3 separate regions of the Homo sapiens genome follow, and all the other regions are linked to region 3. Evidence: promoter capture Hi-C in human tissues and cell types (Jung and others, 2019). All regions are on one chromosome and are shown on one strand. The core of a region is centred on a gene start or on the middle of the fragment in contact, and the rest is flanking DNA. Distances in the headings are between cores, read along the strand shown.

Evidence for each region. The method cuts DNA at HindIII sites, captures the fragments that hold promoters and counts their contacts. A contact is called where the count stands out against the background at its distance.
Region 1: a contact is called between a fragment that was not itself captured here and the fragment with the promoter of DCLK1 in region 3, in 2 of the 25 tissues and cell types used here (bladder and psoas muscle).
Region 2: a fragment that was not itself captured here is called in contact with the fragment with the promoter of DCLK1 in region 3 in 3 of the 25 tissues and cell types used here (bladder, dorsolateral prefrontal cortex and liver).

The regions. Positions count from the first base shown.
Region 1 is chr13:36,171,484-36,174,183 of GRCh38, reverse strand. It overlaps CCDC169-SOHLH2 (CCDC169-SOHLH2 readthrough), which reads left to right. Exons shown (of 16, transcript NM_001198910.2): 14 at 374-492. SOHLH2 (spermatogenesis and oogenesis specific basic helix-loop-helix 2) reads left to right here. Exons shown (of 11, transcript NM_017826.3): 9 at 374-492. Among named protein-coding and RNA genes, the nearest start is that of DCLK1, 41 kb to the right of the region's middle. The HindIII fragment of the contact is 5,056 bases long and covers 1-2,700 here.
Region 2 is chr13:36,095,382-36,098,081 of GRCh38, reverse strand. All of the region lies in intron 3 of DCLK1 (doublecortin like kinase 1), which reads left to right. Among named protein-coding and RNA genes, the nearest start is that of DCLK1, 35 kb to the left of the region's middle. The HindIII fragment of the contact is 3,803 bases long and covers 1-2,700 here.
Region 3 is chr13:36,130,086-36,132,785 of GRCh38, reverse strand. DCLK1 (doublecortin like kinase 1) reads left to right here and starts at 1,404. Exons shown (of 17, transcript NM_001330071.2): 1 at 1,404-1,672. The HindIII fragment of the contact is 11,041 bases long and covers 1-2,700 here.

The DNA of each region.
Region 1 (2,700 bases), core at 53-2,552, 42 kb before region 3:
CAGCAGGGACGTGATGGCTTCTGGTGTTCCTCCATTGTGGAGAGGTCTCGGGCCCTGGAGCTGTCCAGCCCTATTTCAATTAGTGGTGCTTAAAGCAGGTCATTAGTGCAAAATGTGACTTCCCAAATGATTACTTTCTTCTCTAGATTGATCAGAATATGTAAACAAAGAGAAACTGGAGAAAAAGCACATCATTCCTGCACATCCTAAGGAATTATCGTGGGTCATGTGTCTTTGCTCATATGTAAATAATCCATAGTTGAGGCTTTATCAGTGTTTTTAGAACTTGAATGATAAAAGGGCAATTGAACTCAGCAGTGTCCACATTGTTTTCCTTGAAAAATGTGCAAATAATTTTTTCTGTCCTTTCAAGGGAAAACAGTGTGATGAGCACTTACTCCCCTGAGAGAGGGCTCCAATTCCTGACTAATACGTGCTGGAATGGGTGCTCCACTCCTGATGCAGAGAGCTCCTTGGATGAAGCTGTGAGAGGTGAGCTTCTCCTAGCATCTGTGCCACTTAGAGGGGGACCTGCCCTGCCCTGCAAACCCCCAGGCTCCTGTGCATTCACCACCATAACCAGGGAATCCAGGAGAGCTGATGAGTCCTTCTGGTATTGTCAGCCTCAGGTACACAAGGTGGCTACAGTTGTTTAAATAGTGTTATGCCAGAAACTGGGCTCAAAATTGACCGTAATTACCAGAAAGCTCATTCTGTTGATAGATGATAAGCACACTGGTGACTTTGTTTATAATATGAATAGAATCTCAGGGGAGGGGAAGTATTCGTATAATTTCAGGACTGACTGTGTCCTGAGCATTTAACATATTTATTTACCTCCTTCATGCCTTTGCTTGCATGTCACCTCTCAAAGAGATCTTCTCAGCCACTTTCTCTGCTGTATTTGTCTTGATAGCACTCACTGCCTTCTGCTATTCTTTACTTGTGTGTTTTGTTTGTTGCCTATCTTCCATTAGAATGTCACCTCCATGAAGGCAGGGAATTTTTTGGCTGGTTTTATTCATTGCTGTATTTCTAGTACCTAGAACAATGACCAACATACAGGAGGGGCTCAAGAAATCTCATTATGTGAATATTCATTGTGGAACAAATGCTTTCCCGCTGGGAGGCATTTTTGTTATATGTGCCGTATAAGCCTAGACATGCCCGTGTACCTGAAATAACAAGATGGAAAAAAATAGAGGAAAAGAACACAGCTAGCAGTTTGTGACTTTTAGTATTCCTGAAGATAAAGTTACTCTCCGTCTAGAAACCAGGAAGGTATGGACCTCTTGACCTAAATGTTAGACGCTAGATGACAGGACTGCCTCTCTCCTCAGCCTCTCAGTCCTAGATGACACTTCTGACTTCCTCCAACAGGCTCTGCTCTCACCAAGCACCTCCCTTGTACCAGGAATGTCCTTCCTCCCTCACCTGCGCTAGTTAGTACCAAGTCCATCCCTAGTTCTCAGCTTAAATGTCCCTGCCTCAAAGATGGGGACACAAAGATGAATAAAAGGCAGTTCTTGTTCTTATGGAGCTCACAACTTAGTGGTAGAAAGGGTCACAAAAGAAATTATGGCCCAGACAGTCTTGTAAGTGCTGTAGTAGAGGAACCATGCACAGATGGGGATGTGGCGGAAGCCATGGGAACAAATGAAGGTTATGCAGCATAGTGTCTAAAGTCAAAAGAGCAGGGACCCCCAGATAGAACCCAGCCCTGATTCTTCATATCACCAAAGAAGCCTCAGGGTGTTATTTTAGTCAGTTTAGACTTTTCTCCCAACTTAGAGGAGAGAAGAGAGGAGAAGAAAAAAAAATTGCCATAAGTAGCAGTGGCTGAATGTGACATGGAATGATTAAATCAGCTTAGATTAAATCAGATAGAGATCAGGCCACAGGCATATGCCTGTCAATGTTATTTTTTTGTACATACAATACTATTTATGTCCTGCAGAAACTCTGAAACATTATTTTCGTGGCAGCGAGTTCAGGCCTTTCTATGCCCCAGCATTTCAAGACACTGCCTCCCCTAAGGAGACCAATCTTGGGAAGCCAGAGATATGCTAGGAATAGACCTGTGGTAGGTTCAAACCCTAGGAGGCCTTGAAGGTTAAGGAGTCAAAACTGCCATTTTTATTTGATGTAAATACATTTTTGCGTTTGAAAACCAGTGCCGATCCTTTACTAACCTGGATAAGATAATCACCGTGTTCATTTTTTAATGTATTTCCTTCAAGTCTTCTTCCAGATATATTTTTCTATAGTAGTAATCATTGGATATCCCATTTTGTTTCTTGAATTTTTTTACTTAACTTTGTGTCATACATATGTATATTTGTTGTTATGCATCACTCATCACCATTTTAATAGTTTTAATCATTTATCAAGGGTAGAGTAATTTTCTTAGCCATTTTCCAGTCGCTACATTTAGCATTTGCAGTTTGGGGAGAGAGTGATTTTTTACATCATATGATAGGAAATATTTTCCCATATATGAAGTTTTCTGTATTTTGGACTTTTCCTTGGACTGGATTCCTGGAAGAGTATAATGGGTTCCTGGAAGAGTGTGATGGGTGACTTAGAGAACAGAGAACGTGAATGTATGTATAGGCTCTTAATGCATGTTGCCAAATTGTTTTGGAAAGAGGATCAGAGAAGTTGCAATCAGTTAAGTCTTCCAAATTTCGCTTTCACTAC
Region 2 (2,700 bases), core at 18-2,517, 35 kb after region 3:
CAGGCACTAACTAAAATTTCGATTTTTTACCCCATTAACAGTATTATGGGAGTAGATACTATTGTTATCTCCCTTTCACAGATGCAGAATCAGGGGGAAAGTAACTGGCCCAAGTGATTAGTACCTGGTCAAGGCAGACTGACATTCTTAACCACAGTGTCATATCTGACATTATATAGTGTTTTCCAAATACTTTAAGTATATAAAATTCATGTGCATCTTTTTTTTTTTGGTAAGAATGCTCACAATTTATTGCTGAGCTTTATTGGTGTGCCTGCTGGAGTTTAAAAATACTTTTCTTCTGAAATTATCAAATTCCTGTGATTTGTCAGTCTTTAAACACATTGAGATTAATATACTACCCTGTTAAAAGGGTTAGACTGGGTTGCCAAAAGACAGTAAATGTTGAGAAAGCTACTGAAATGTCTTCTTTCAATTTCTTCTAAGTGTTTCTTGCTATTTTGATTCCTATTTGGATTGTTAATGATTATGAAAATAATCCATTTAGAGTAATTTTAAAAACTTAAGAATCTTACTTTAGATTATTATAAAAATTTATATTCCCAATAGTGGAAAAAGAACATTTTTAATGTAACTAACACATCACAGAGATATACAGTACAACTATTTTATAGAGTGTGAATATCGCAAAATTTAAAAACATGTCAACTTTAAAATAAAAAATGATTACAGCTTTATTAAGCTATAATTTTCGTACTACAAAAAGCACCCATTTTAAGTATATTATTTAATGATTTTAATAAATGCATAGAATCATGCAACCATCACCACATTCCAGTGTTAGACACTTTGACCAAGAAAGTTCCTTCATCTGCATTTGCAGTCAATCTGGGCTCCCACCCCTAGCCCAGCAGCCACTGATCTGCTTATTAGTCACATCAGCTTTTAAATGTTGACCTCATTTTTCTATCTGCTTTTATAGAAAAGTCTCCTTTCTACCTTCTAAGTCATTTGTGTAATTATGGATTCACTAAGTTCATCGCCTTTAACCTGTAACTGTAGCCTCCATCCTCTCCAGCTCGGTTTGACTAGCTCTGGGTTTTATTGAGGTTTTATAAGTAACTTATTACAGAGGTTATGTAGCCAGTTTCAGCACTGTGAGCCACTTATTATCTTTGCACTCTTTGCACATACGGCATTTCTGAGCTCACTCCAGACTTAGGTATCCAGGAGAAGAAAGCTTTCATGTTCATGGCAGGATGGAATAATTACTGTCTTCTAAGCCCTAGGGATGCTTCCTTGGGGTCTATTCTTCTCTCCTACCTTCTTGGGGCCCCATTTGGTGACATTTGCTTTGTTACAGTCCAAAATACCATTTATAAGCTGATTAGGTTTCACATGATATTAACATATTTCAAGCTGTGTATATCTTTTTGCATTTCATAGTTAAAATATGGCTTCCATGTGCTTTGTCTGTTCCTTGGATGAGATCCAATTATTTCATAATCTCTGTCATTCCCTCTTCATGGTGAGTTTCCCACTTGTCCTTTCATCACTTTGCTATTCAAGATCTTTGAGGACTTTTAAAAGATTACCTATTTCTTTCTTCTCAAGGAAAGAGACTTAATTGTGCATTTTAATATTCTGCCGTACAGTAAAGCTGCACCTGGGGGATTATGTTCACTGAACCATCATTGAAAATGCCTTTGTACTTCAGTGTTAAGATGCTGCTGGCCTTTGGATTCCAGAAAAGATTGTGTATTCAGTGTATACTTATCTTCTTTTTCTTGTTCAAGGCCATCTCTAAACCAAAAACAAGGACCGGTCTCCCCTGTGAAGCCTCTTACAAGATGGGAAAGAAAAGCTGGTCTCTGGCTGAGATTCAAAGGCCTTGGGCTTATATCTAGGCATAGTTCTGAGGTTAGTGAGGAACTGAGATTGCTTCCCAGATTTTTCTCCCTTTCTGACCTCCTTCTTGGTAATCTGTCTCTCCAAAGAACCAAAGGGGTTTTGGTGGTGGTTAGCTACATTAAAGAAAATTACATACAAAAAACCCTTTCAAAACCAATGGAACTTGTTTATAGTTTTTAACCCTCTCTTTTGGGGGCTTTATTATATAGGTCTTATTATTAAATTGAAATTAAATAAAATAGTGATTTAGTTTGTTTATTATATGGTTTATTGTAATTTCCTTTAGCTAAAGCTGACAACAGAAAATAATATCAATGAAATGGAAAAATTCTTTTAATTCCAGGAATTTAAGACAAAATCCTCTATCTTTAATTTAGTTTTTCTTATTTTATCTACAACAATGGCTCTTAAATTTTGGGGCTTGCATTCCCCTTTGAGAATCTTATGACTGCTATGGCCATATCCTCAAGAAAGTTATGCTTCTCAGATGAGGTAGCATTTAATTTTTCTACTATGTTTCTCAGCAGTGTTCAGTCTTTGACTCTCATATTTTGGGGGAAGGGGTGGTGGAATTTATATGTCCATGATATTTACTTATCCGGTGACATAAATCAAGTCTTGTTTTAGATCATCTTTAATTTTCTTGCATTAAGTAGTGGTTTTTTGGAAACATTTGGGAGTTTGAGCCCAGAAAGATATGAGAGAGCCGGGCACAGTGGCTCACACCTGGACTCCCAGCATTTTGGGAAGTTGAGGCGGGCGGATTGCCTGAGCTCAGGAGTTCGAGACCAGCCTGACCACCACAGTGAAACCCGTCTCTACTAAAAA
Region 3 (2,700 bases), core at 155-2,654:
AAGAAATCACTTGGCATTTGTCATTGGCAAGATAAAAAGAAGCTCTGATTTCTGTTCTCCAGAAGATGTACTTGGCTTCTTCCTTTCTCTTAATTTACCCCTATGGCTCTCATTTTGCCTCAGAATGTGAAAGAATAGGCTTACTACTTTGCATTTAGTTAATTTGGTGAGTTCACTGTACTCTCATCTCTGGGCTATTAAATAGTTCAAAAATAAATATCGCATCACTTGTGGAATATGTAGCATGGATCTCATTTGAGCTGTGTTTTAAAACAAATGGTAATTATTTAACATTTACATCATACTTGGAAAGTATTTCAGAATAGAACTTTTTAATAATAAGTAGTCAAACACATAACTGGGATCAATGGGCAAGAGAAAAATAAAATTTTAATGTTCCATTGAAAGGTGTAGGCTCAGGAAGAGAGAAAAATACTTATGTGTATTTTGTATACTCATGTGTATTTGGGACAAACACAGGTTGTGGACGACAGGATTGAAAGTCAGATTAACTGGATCAAAATTCAGGCTGCGTACTGAGCCAGTCTAAGATTTCACCGAAATCTGGGAGCTGCTCCCACTCCCTGGACTTTTGTGCAAAGACTGGAGGAAGCTGTGAACAGCCTGGGCTAGGAGAACATTCCCCCTCTGGGAGGAGAGGCTCGCATGAGCTCATGGGGCTTTCCACCGCAGACCCAGCCTTGGCAGCCACAAAGTGTCCAGCAGTGAAACCTGGCCCTTCAGTTCTCAAGGGCCCTTTGGAACATATTTGACTCTAAGCAGAGGTCACTATTCCAAGAGTGACTCATGTCTTGGGGTTAAGTGGAGATGATGGGTGGGATCCATGAACAGATCCAGCTCTTCCCAATGTGGGGGGCACCAGAGTGCATAGCTTGGGAGGGTTGGTCATCCGAAGAGGCACTGCGTGGGTGCATCCCGGGCAAAAAGGATGAGAAGGTGATCCACTGGCTTCCATACCCTGGGAAAGGTGTCAGACCGTGAGGTCACATCAAAAGGTATGAGTGTGGGTACCTCCTTCCCTCCCCCGACGGTGGGGGCCTCATCTCTCGGCCATATCACCTCTGTGCCTTGCACACTTCCTGGCTCAGACTCAGCCCTGTCCACGTTCTCTTCCACCATCTGATCTGCCCCCATCTCCCAAAGACTACTTGTGGGGACTAGGGAGGTTTAGGGGTGTAGTCAAGCCAGATGCACCGAGGTTGCTGCGGTGGGAAGAGGGCGCTGGGAGGGAGGAGGACCTGGGGCGCAGCCGTGGTGGGTGCGCCCTGCCAAGAAGGGCGGGGGCGACGGGGCGCGCACGCGGAGGAGGAGGAGGAGGAGGGAGACGGGAGGGCGTGTGAGCGAGTGAGACAAGAAAAGGGAGCGCGCCCGCCGCCGCCGCCGCCGCCGCCCTCCTCTGGAGAGAGAGGCTGGAGTGAGGCTGTGCGAAGCGCCGCATTTCAATGAGGACGGGCCGAGGCACATCCCTGCACTAGTGGCCGCAACCGAGGCGCCGCGCTCCAGCAGCTGCTGCCGCCCAGCCCGGCCCCGCCGCCGCCCCCCAGCCCTGCAGCCCCGCAGCCCCGGCCGCGCCCAGCCCGGCGAGGACAGCACCAGGAGGCGGCCCCCAGCGCGGCCACAAAGACCCCCGGCGGCGTCTCTCCGCGGACCGGTGCGTGGTTTGCCTTCCCTGGGGACGGGAGCTGCGGGGAGGGCGGCCGGGGGACTCCGCAGAGCCCGCTCCGCCCGCAGCCGCGGGGCGCCGAGGGCAGGGCGGGCGCTCAGCTTGGCCCCGCCGCCCCGCCCGCAGTTCCTCGAAAGGCGGCCGCCCTGCCCTGGCCAGCCTGGCCCGACCCGGGGGCGTTGCGTGCGGGCGGCCCCGGGGCTGCTGGCACCTGCCTCTTTTGTTTGGTGCCATGGGGCTTTAAACCTGGAGTCAGGCGAGCGGGCCCTCCCAGGCTTTTCGCGTTGTTAGTGGAGATGGAGAGCCAGGGCGGAGGAGCTGGGAGAGGTGCTTGTCATTGTCAGAACTGGCTGCGGAGCGGGAACCAAGGAAGGAGTGGCCGGGCCCGGCCTCTTATTGTGTGTGTGCTTTTCCGTGTGCCCGGGCCAGTGATGTGTGCTTGTGGATGGGGTCGATTCGTGCGTGGTGGTGGCTGCAGCGTGGGTGTTGCAAGTACGTTTGCAGGGTCTCAAGTTCCTTCAGGGACAGCGAGGCTGCCTCATGTTCAAATTAGTACCTGCAGTGCTAAAAGCTTGCGGAGAGGAAATGGCATTTTTTCCTCCTAGTGGGAGCGCACGCACAGCCCCGCAATGCCCCACAAAAGAGGCTGCTTTTGAAAACCAGGTTTGCGCGGAATTGCTCCTGGATTTGGCAAGGAGATGCTTGGTCGGTGAGAGAGAAGATGAAAGGTTTCATTCAAACCGGCTCCCTCTCTGCTGCACCTGTGAGTGTGTCCAGGCACGGTGCACACACGTTCAGCGACCACACTGCAGGCTGTTCCGTGAATACATTTTATGACTGTTCCTAAATATATTGCCTTTCAGTGGGAAAGGAAAGTAGGACAGCGTTTTAAGTATGAAATGTCACATGGATGCAGGTCAGAAGGGATTTTTTAAGAGAGGTCATATAGAGGAAAATTATAAAAGATATGCACACACCCTGTGATGTCTACGTCCGTGGTGGTGCACGGGCCTGGA